Regions from separate parts of the Homo sapiens genome. Here region 1 is linked to region 2. The links are contacts of gene promoters, found by promoter capture Hi-C in blood cells and fetal thymus (Javierre and others, 2016). All regions are on one chromosome and are shown on one strand. The core of a region is centred on a gene start or on the middle of the fragment in contact, and the rest is flanking DNA. Distances in the headings are between cores, read along the strand shown. Region 1 has its middle 14 kb from the start of LAPTM5. Region 2 holds the start of MATN1 (matrilin 1).

What was found. Contacts are between HindIII fragments. The CHiCAGO score rates a contact against its expected background, and 5 or more counts as called.
Region 1: a contact is called between a fragment that was not itself captured here and the fragment with the promoter of MATN1 in region 2, in 5 of 17 cell types (total CD8 T cells, naive CD8 T cells, naive CD4 T cells and 2 more). The highest score is 7.5, in total CD8 T cells.

Annotation. Positions count from the first base shown.
Region 1 is chr1:30,768,772-30,773,916 of GRCh38, reverse strand. No RefSeq gene overlaps it. Among named protein-coding and RNA genes, the nearest start is that of LAPTM5, 14 kb to the right of the region's middle. RefSeq lists an enhancer at 81-581. The HindIII fragment of the contact is 498 bases long and covers 3,341-3,838 here.
Region 2 is chr1:30,720,226-30,725,256 of GRCh38, reverse strand. It overlaps MATN1 (matrilin 1), which reads left to right and starts at 1,672. Exons shown (of 8, transcript NM_002379.3): 1 at 1,672-1,799; 2 at 3,506-3,852. The coding sequence starts at 1,706. It overlaps MATN1-AS1 (MATN1 antisense RNA 1), which reads right to left. Exons shown (of 4, transcript NR_034182.1): 2 at 3,535-3,969. The HindIII fragment of the contact is 11,974 bases long and covers 1-4,760 here.

The DNA of each region.
Region 1 (5,145 bases), core at 2,340-4,839, 47 kb before region 2:
TAGCATTGTCCCCTCTCAGCTTCCCCTGTGATGTTTGCCTCTCCTCTCCTCTCCTTTCCTCTCCTCTTCTCTCCTCTCCTCTCCTTTCCTTTCCTTGATGGGGGTCTCACTCTGTCTGTCACCCAGCCTGGAGTGCAGTGGTGCTTACATGGTTCACTGCAGCCTCGACCTCCTGGGCTCAAGTGATCCTCTCACCTCAGCCTCCCGAGTAGCTGGGACTACAGCCATGCACCACCACGCCTGGCTAATTTTTAATTTTTTTTTGTAGAGATGGGCTTTTGCCATGTTGCCCAGGCTGGTCTCAAGCAATCTGTCCACCTCGGCCTTCCAAAGTGCTGGGATTCCAGGCATGGGCTCCTGTGCCTTGCCTTGCATTCTTGTCTAGACTTTGCAGGAAACTGCAGAGTCCTTCCTCGTTCCTGACCAGTGTGCCTTCAGAGCCTCCACATCAACGCCATGTTCATGCCACTGTGAAAGCCACCACGTCAGTGCCGGGTCCGTGCCACTGTGAGAGCCACCACGTCAGTGCCGGGTCCGTGCCACTGTGAGAGCCACCACGTCAGTGCCGGGTCCGTGCCACTGTGAGAGCCACCACGTCAGTGCCGGGTCCGTGCCACTGTGAGAGCCACCACGTCAGTGCCGGGTCCGTGCCACTGTGAGAGCCACCACGTCAGTGCCGGGTCCGTGCCACTGTGAGAGCCACCACGTCAGTGCCGGGTCCGTGCCACTGTGAGAGCCACCACGTCAGTGCCGGGTCTGTGTTACTGTGGGTAGAGGGGCAGCATCCAGCTGCATCTGCCCCTCTGAGAGAGCTCTCTTGCCCTGTTGCCTGCCAGGCAGCTCCTGCACTTCTCCATGGGGTGGCTCTGGCCATGCCCTGGGCTCTGCTCTCACCGTTTGCTGTCTTTCCCTGGGCCTGGGAGAACTGTCACTTCCAGGGGGTTGCAGGGAACCCCCAACCCCAGCTTTCTCCTCTGTTCCTCACCTTCTACCTGGTCTCAAGGGTGGGGAGGACATTTCTGGTTCATCGCGTGAGCTTCTAAATTTTCTATACTATTCAGAGCGTGGGCTCTTGAAACATGGAAAACCAGGTGCTCTGACTGCTGTGCCTATATTCTTCTGTGTCCTGCTCAGCTGCCCAGATGTGGGGACTAAGGGCAGGGGGCAGGGAGGGAGGGGCAACAGGAAATTCTGGAGAGAGAGGCATTGGTGAATACTTCAACAGATTATCCTGATAAAGCAAACACAGAGAGGTTAAGTGACCTGCTCCAGGTCTCCCAGCAGGTCAGAGGCAGAACCAGTCAAACCGAGTCTGAGTCCTTGGCCTCCAGCTCAGCAGAAAGCAACTAGTGAGAACATCATGATGTCCCTTTGAACAGATTGGGACGGAGGCCCAGAGCAGGGAAGAAATTACCCAAGTGGATGCAGCAAGTTGAGGCAGAGTGAGGACTGGAACTCAGCATGCCGCCTTTGTCTGGTGTTGCAGCCCGGAACCCCCGGGAAGCCTCAGAGAGCCTGAGGGAGGAGGAGAGAAACATCAGAGCAGGGAGCTACTAGGGCCTGGCTGCTCTGCTCCCATGTGGCTCAGGAAGGGCTTGTCCCCTGTTAACATCTATTTGTCATCTCTTCGCTGGGGTGCTTTGAAAGGAGAAGGACGGGTCAGGTACAGTGACTCATGCCTGCAATCCTAGCACTTTGGGAGGCTGAGGCAGGAGGATCACTGGAGGCCAGGAGTTTGAGACCAGCCTGGGCAACATAGTGAGACTCCATCTCTACAAAAAATAAAATAATTAGCCAGGCACACTGGCTCACACCTGTAATCCCAGCACTTTGGGAGGCCGAAGTGGGAGGATCATTTGAGCCCAGGAGTTTGAGACCAGCCTGGGCAACATAGTGAGACCCCCATCTCTACAAAAAATAAAATAATTAACTGGGCATGGTGGTTCATGCCTGTAGTTCCAGCTACTCAGGAGGCTGAGGCAGGAGGACTGCTTGAGCCCAAGAAGCCAAGGTTGCAGTGAGCTGTGATCGCACCACTGCACTCCAGTCTGGGTGACAGAGTGAGACCCTGTCTCCAAAGGGGAAAAAAAAAAGTGAGGGAAAAGGTTGCAGTTAGCTGTGATTGCACCACTGCACTCCAGCCTGGGTGACAGAGCGAGACCTTGTCTCCAAAGGAAAAAAAAAAGTGAGGGATATGTTTCAAGGCAGGCTCCTTCTTCCTGCCTCCTGCCTGACCATCTTGGCTCTGACCTGACATTTCTGAAGTCCCCATCTCCTTTCTGATTTTTTAACAATCTCAAACATATAAGGACATCGCAAGTACAGTAGGGAAAGCTATTTTTCTCCCTGGCCATCTGAGACTAAGTTGCTGTCATCATGCTCTATCCCTGCTGAATACTTGTGTCTATTTCCTACTAACAAGGACATTCTCTTACACAAACACAATGCCATATGAAAATCCCAAAGCAAACCTCACACTGTATCCTAGGTCCCCCTGTTGTTCCAGGAATGTCCTAGCCATTGAGTCATCCTGTCTCTTTAGCCTGGAATAACTCCTCATTGAGTCTTGGTTTTGTGCCCTTGACGTTGTTGGATATTCCAGGCCGGTTTTGGAGAACGTTCCTTATGTTGGGTTTGTCTCCTCTTGGTTATATCAGGCTGAGCATCTTCAGGGGGCTGATCACAGAGAGATGCTGCTTCTCTTCCTGCATCCCTGCAGGTGGCTCACGGTTCTCATTTGCCCTGGTACTGATGAAATCCACTTGGCTCCCTTGGTTGGCTTCTCCACTGCAGAGTGACTCTTTTCCCTTCATCATGGAAAAGGATTTTGTTCGGTCGGCACTCTGAGACACCATGAGTAGCCTACTCCACACCAAACTTCTGTTATGCATTAATTAATTCACATCAGCCAGAACTCACGGTTCCCTATTTTTTTCAGTGGGTGATGCTGTGTTACTGTGGGTATTTATTTTGATGCTCAGAAGAAACCGGAGGGACCTTCTTCATGTCCCCAGTGATGTCCCTGTCATTCCTTGAGTTCTTCCTTATTTTCTGGCACAAAAGATGTTTTAGGCTCATCTTATTCTTTCTCTGGCCTGACCCTGGAATCAGCCATTTCTCCAATGTAGGGGCTAATTTTAAGTTTTCTACCAGACTCGCAGATGAGGCTGAACATTTAGTTATCATATCGTGTGTGTGTGTGTGTGTGTGTGTATGCATGCATGTTAGATGTGTGTTAAAAAAGTGTATTTATGAAATATAACATTAAAAAAGATCAGAGATTTTAAAACTGAGGTTGGGCAGTTCTTTTTTTTAAATATATATAAATACACTAGAAGCTTTAAGGGGGGCCCGGGATGGTGTCCTGGGCCTCTTGTGGTTTCTGCCTTGCCCCTTAGCCTATGAGGCACACGCCCCTGACCTGGCCTCTCCCGCCTGGGCCAGCACATCTGAAGCCCAGAGGGGCGCAGGCGAGGCTGGGGTCTTGCCAGAGCAAACATAGCCCCTGTGCAGGGCCAAGGGAAACAGCGTTGGGTCAATATTAGCTCGTGCGAAACAGGCCTGAGGAACGTGTGGTTTGTCCCACTCGGCCTCTGGGAGGGAGAGGTGGACTCAGGCGCTCACAGCAGCACTTACCATTGTTGGGCCAGCCTCCTTCTGTGTGGATGGGGAAACTGAGGCCCAGAGGTGGCAGGGCAGGGACTTGCCTTGGGTCACAGTGCTCAGAACAACACTCTTTTGTAGTCTACATTCTTTTTTTTTTTTTTTTTTCTGGAGATGGCCTTGCTCTGTCGTCCAGGCTGGAGTGCAGTGGCGCAAGTATAGCTCACTGAAAGCTTGATCTCCTGGGCTCAAGGGATCCTCCTGCCTCAGCCTCCGGAGTAGATGGGTCTACAGGTGCATACTTCCATACTGGCTAACTTAAATTTTTTTTTTTTTTTTGTAGAGATGGGGTGTTGCTATGTTGCCCAGGCTGGTTTTGAACTCCTGGTCTCAAGTGATCCTCTCGCCTCAGCCTCCCAAACTGTGAATTCTCCATTCTTTTCCTTCAGTTGTTTCTGTTTTCCTCCCTGAGGCTTCTGGGAAGCAGCAGAAGTCAGGTCAGCAAGCACTGGACTGAGAGTCAGGAGTTCTAGTCCCATTTCTGTCTCGCTCTGCAGTGGGACTCTGGGGATGTTACTGCTTCATTCTGGGCCCTTATATCTCAAAGGTTCCTTCTCCCTGAAAATTACAAACTTTGACCTTCAGTGCATCCGCTCAACTAATTCAGGTCCTCAAAATCGAAATTCTTTAGGGGCCAGGTAGAGAAGGTAAATGTGGGGTGTGACAAGTTGTGGGACAATAGGGAGAGGCGGGGACGGTGGAGAGCTGGAAAGTGTGTGCCTGTCATGAAGACATTCGAAGTGAAACAACAAGATGGTGGGACCGTGTTGGTCCTGGGAAGCCCCGAGTGTCTGCAGGCCTGGCTGACTGCTTTCAGGTGTAGCAGGCCTGAGGCAGAGCAGAAGGACAGAGCCCCGGCTCTCGCATCATGTCACACTGCCCCCTGTATCTGACCCTGGAGAAGAGGGAGGCCTGGCTGGGGCTGCCGTTTCCAGGCCCAGGAAAGTACCGTGACGGCTGCTGCGAGGCTCAGGGGTGAGACGTGGCCTGGAGAAGCAGGGAGTGGTCAGGCCTGGGAGTGACGTGGTCCCTGGTCCAGCCCTTCTGCCGGGCTCTCTGAGATTTCATCTACACTCCAGCTGCCGGGATGTGCACACCCGCCCCTGCTCACCTCCTGCCTTATCTGTGGGTCCTGCTGCCTCAGCCTCCTATCTCCCAACTCCAGCTGCTTCCCCTACCTCTCCTTCCTGCCACAAGGGAAAGTCACTGACCACCAACTGCTGCCCACACCCTGACACAACCTCCCCAGCCCCCTCCAACCCTTGAAGAAGCTGAGAACCTGCTTCTGCTCATCCCAGGCCAGCATTTGAGTTCCAGTTTGCCACTTAGGATCTGGGCTCTAGGATCTTGGGCAAATGGCTCAACGTCTCAGAGCCTTGGTTTTCTCATCTCTAAAACGGAAGGTCATCTGGCCATGCTGGATCACTGGGTTGTGTTGTTGTGAGGATTGAACCAGGTAAGGTAAGAGAGTGAGGTCCAGAG
Region 2 (5,031 bases), core at 423-2,922:
TGGGCCTCAGTTTCTCCATCTGACAAATGGGCCAAGAGACTCAAATCTGCTGACTTCACAGGTTTGTTGGGTGAGCAAATGAGATAGAGTGATAGAATGAGTAACTGCCATGTCAAGGGTGGAAGGGATTGTTATAATTATTGCTAAAGAGTGTGGTAGCGGTGAGTTGGGTCTGCTGCACCCAGCAGTCGCTTTTTGTCTGTACATTTCCTTTTATTGAGGTATAATTTACACAGAGTGAAGTGCATAGGTCCCAAGTCTTAGGATTCTGCCTCCTGGAGCAATGACAATCCTTTAACTCCATTTCCACTTCTGTCCCCCTCTTGCCCCTCACATGGGGCAGGCAGATCAAGAACGACCATTCCCACTGCACCATGGCAAGCTGAGGCTCAGAGAGGTTAAGTCACCAGCTCCAGGTCACACAGCCAGTTAGGAGCAGAAGTGGCTTTGAACCTGGATCTCTCAGGTAGCCAAGCCCATGCTCTTTCTGCTCTATCTCATGAACTACTTGACCCAAATGCAAAGAAGGGGATCGTTCCTGCTGATGTTACTTTGTTTAGAAGGCTTTATCTTTGCCTTCTCTGTGCTGGGCCTGATGCAGAGTTGAATCCACTGGCTGACAGGTGAGGTGGGCCAAGCAGGGACCCACAGGGGGAAGAGATGGGCAGGGAGAAGCCACCTACATCAAGCTACACTGAGACAGCAGCATGGCTGAGAGCCGGGCCTGGGGCTCTATCCTGGCAATAACACTTCTTAGCTGTGTAACTTCAGACAAGTTATTTTACCTCTCTGTTCTTTAACAGTAGCTGCTTTAAAAAGTTGTCAAGAGGATTAACTGAGAAACCTCATCTAACTCCTTTGCTCCTTGAATCAACCCTAGGAGGCGCTATTACCATCCCTAGTTTCCAGATGAGCAATCTGAGACATGAGAGGTGAAGTCACTTGCCCATGGTCACACAGGTGGTTTGCTGGTATAGCAAACCCAGGTAACCTGGCTCCCAAGTCTGTGCTCTTAACCATGGTCTCCACTGCCCTGCCCATACTAACAGTGAAGGTACATGTTAGCCCTAATTATGACCTTGAAAGATTCTACAAGGCAGAGAGTTAGTGAGAGGAAAGGATTCTGGGCAGATGGCCCTGCATGTGTGATGGCCTGGAGGCCTTCGAGGAGAATCCAGGGGTAGCTGGAGAGCAGGGCGTGTGCGGAGAGCAGGGCACAGTGAGGCTGGGGAAGGGGAAGTGAATTTAATGAGAAACTTGGGGTTGTGAGTGGGGGAAGGATTTGGGTGTGGGATGAAGGTGCAGGACAGGGCTGGGCCGGGCCATTGGACTCAGGTATGCCTAGGCTTGGGGTGGAGCTTCAAGGCAGCGCGGGCTCCAGCCCCTGGAAGAGCCACCCCCCACCCACCTGAGATTTCCCAAATTCCAGCTGCCGCTCTAGTTGCTTCTGCAAGCAAAGGAGCCCTTGTGGTCAGAGGGGCCTCTGAAGCCTGGGCCAGGCTCTCCCGCCCTCTCAGGGCACACACACCTCCATTCAGCCCAAGCCCCGCCCTTTGGGGGGGCTGGGGGCCAGGGCGGGCTGCCCCCACGTCAGTCGTCAGTTGGGGGCCACCTGACCCAAAGGCTGGGCGGGCAGTGGGGTTGATAAGACCTGGACCCCACTGGTCCCACAACCGTGCCGGCTGCTGCCCGTGCTGCCAGAACTATGAGGGTCCTCTCTGGCACTAGCCTCATGCTCTGCAGCCTGCTGCTGCTGCTCCAGGCCCTGTGCAGCCCTGGCCTCGCCCCCCAGTCCAGAGGTGAGGGGGCTTGCGTGAGATGGGGGCTACTGAGCTAGTGGGCCCTGACCCTCAGCACTGGGGGCTGGGTACCGATATGGCAGGGAGCACACGGGATCCAGGATGGGGAAGGGAGCAGGGCGGCAGTGGTGGGCAGTGGGCTGGTGCAGGAGCAGACAGGGACCATGGTGCTTATAAGGGTCAGGGCAGGGGTGCTCCTCAGCCCTCAGGGACCATGCATGAGGCAGGGACCTTGGTCTTCCAGGTCTCTGGGGAGCAGAAGCTACTCAGAGAGCTGGCTGACGTCTGGAGCTGCACCAAGCCCAGGGCTGAGCCCATGGCTCTTTGATGACAGCAGACCTGGGATGCCAAGAGCTCATGCCCCCTTTGCAGGTCCTTCCAGCCTTGGGCTCCCTGGGGGCAATAACACCCCCCAGAGTTTCAGGTTTGGGCACTGAGTCCTGGAATGCCCATTCTTCCTGTACAGATGGGGAAACTGAGGTCAGTGAGGGCCTAAGACCACACAGTGAGATAGCGCCAGAGCCTCTAGGTTATTGATCTACTGCTGTACGGTGTGGCCAATTCCCTTTCCCTCTTTGGGTCTCAGTTTACCCATTTGTAGCCTTAGCGAGTAGACAGCAGGGAGCCTGCTGCATGGTGATTTCTAAGGTCTCCTGAGGAACTCTGATGTCCAGAGCCCCAGTCTAGGGCACTGTGAGTTACTGTGACTTGGGGGTTGGGACGGCCCTGCACGTTTCCCCTTTCCTCTTTGGGATTGGCTCTGCTCAGTTCAGACTCCGCATGGGATGGGGAGGGAAGGGCCTTTGTAGTGAGACCTTCCTGACTGCAGGCCCAGGCCAGTGACAGTAGCCTTATTCTCTCCACTGGACATGTGAGATCACGGAGGCTCAGAAAGGTGCAATGATCTGCCCAGGGCCCCACAGAGTGGCTGAGCCAGGATTTGAACCCAGGCCTGAACTCACTCTGACCCTGCATACTTCCCAGCACAGGGTGCTGCCTTCTTGGGTCTCTGGAGGACATTGCTCCTCGGGGGTGTGTCTTGGTGTGCACCTGATCAGGCTGCCGAGGTGGCCACCAGGAATTCCTGCTCCTTTTCCCTGTCTTTGGCAACCCGCCAGCAGGCGCTGCCAGGCTGAGGGAAACTGGTTCCACTTTGGTGATTTGCTTTGATGCTCAGATGAAAGAGGCCATGTTGACGGGCACTGCTTTGGCTCTCAAGCCTGTGCCCATGCCTGGAGGGCCCATCCTTGGTGCCCTCCTGCCCAGCTAGAAGAAATAGCTGCCCTTGTTTCTGGCAGCAAGTCTGGGCTGAAACCTAAATGTGTTTTCAAGGCCGCAGGGTCCTTTGCCACCCCTGGAATACTCATTGCTTGCCTGGCCCCCTGCTGGCTCCTCAAAACATCCTGTAAGGAGGGATTGCTAGCTCACTGCTCAGATGAGGAAACTGAGGCTCAGAGAAGTGAAGCAAATGGCCCAAGGCCAGGCTTGGCCCTCTGTGTTCCCCATGGGCTGAGCAGGGGGCCTTTGGCAAGTTGCTTGCTGGTGTCTGCATGTTGATAAAAGGGCTCAGCTGCCCAGCTGAAGTTTGCAGCCTACTGGGCCCGAGGCCTCGCACCTGGATCTAAGAAGCCGCACTCTGTGTGTTCAGGCCCAGTCCCTGACCTGTGTCTCTGCTCTCTGCCTTACCCCTCCTGCCCCACTCCCAGGCCATCTCTGCCGGACGCGGCCCACAGACCTGGTGTTTGTTGTCGACAGCTCTCGCAGCGTTCGGCCTGTTGAATTTGAGAAAGTGAAGGTATTCCTGTCCCAGGTCATCGAGTCGCTGGACGTGGGGCCCAATGCCACCCGGGTGGGCATGGTCAACTATGCCAGCACCGTGAAGCAGGAGTTCTCGCTGCGGGCTCATGTCTCCAAGGCCGCACTGCTGCAGGCTGTGCGCCGTATCCAGCCGCTGTCCACAGGCACCATGACCGGCCTGGCCATCCAGTTCGCTATCACCAAAGCCTTCGGCGATGCAGAGGGTGGTCGTTCCAGGTCCCCTGACATCAGCAAGGTACGTGCACGCCACCCTGCTAGGATGCTGCTGTTTGGAGGCTCCCGCTCGGAGTTATGAGCTTTGCCTGCAGACACTTTGATTCCCATGATGCCCCGTGAGGTGGCCATTTCATAGCTGGGGAAACAGGGTCAGAGAGGGGCGGTCATTAGACAGAGGTCACCAGTTGCAAGTGACAGAGCTGGGATTTGAAGCCACCTTTACCCAACCTTTCCATCCTAGGAGCTTACAATCATTTCAGTTTAGTTGACCTTGGTTCCCGACCAGTCTGAGCCCCTTGAAGACATTGCAGACAGGCCAGATGCTTATGGGAGGAGTGAAGGTGTGGCCTCCGCCACCAGCCTGCCTGGGTTCACGCCCTGCTCCACCATACTAGCTGTGCCACCCCGAGCAAGTGACGTCATGTCACTGGTGCTCGGTTTCCTCACCTGTAAAATGGGAGTAATGATAACACCTTCTCCAAGTGCTGCTGAGGACTGAGTTCAAAAGCATAAGGCTTCCCATCATGGCATTTGATAATTTTTAATTTCATAATTCTCCGAGGGCAGGGGCTCAGAAATGGAAGGGCTGTGCTGCCACCTGTGCTGTCAGTGAGGGCTCCAGGCAGAGGGCTGAGCGTTTCCCAGGACTTGTATCCTCACTGTCATGTTCAGGGCTCAGCACAGAACCTGAGGCTAAGCCAGGTGTCCTCTGTTCCTGTGGCACCCCCACAGGCTCCAGCACTTCCCCACTGCAGCCTTCGTTAGCCCGAGTCGCCACTTCCCTGCTCAGGGCCCCAGCTCAGGGGAGGTTCTTTCTTATCCCTCCTCCATACCCCACTCTCTAGCACACAGTGGATAAATGAACATGATTCTGCTCGGAGGTGGTATCCCCATTTTACAGATGGTGAAACTGAGGCATAAGAAGCTTAAGCAACTTGCTCAGCCAATAAGTGGGAAAAGCATTCACAGAGACAACAGCATATAATCCCAGCCATTACCACCCCTTAGAGAAATGACGTATCAGGCAGCCTGTCGGTCTTGGGGCCAACTACAAGTTTCAGCACGGGGTGCTGTAGATGAAGCTGATGGTTGAGGTGGTGGAGAGGGTGAAGGAGATGGGGGTGGTGGCGTGGGGTGGGCAAGTGAGGAGAGAGCTCCTCCAGCAGGTGACACAGCGGCGCTGGGGGAGCTGGCACCA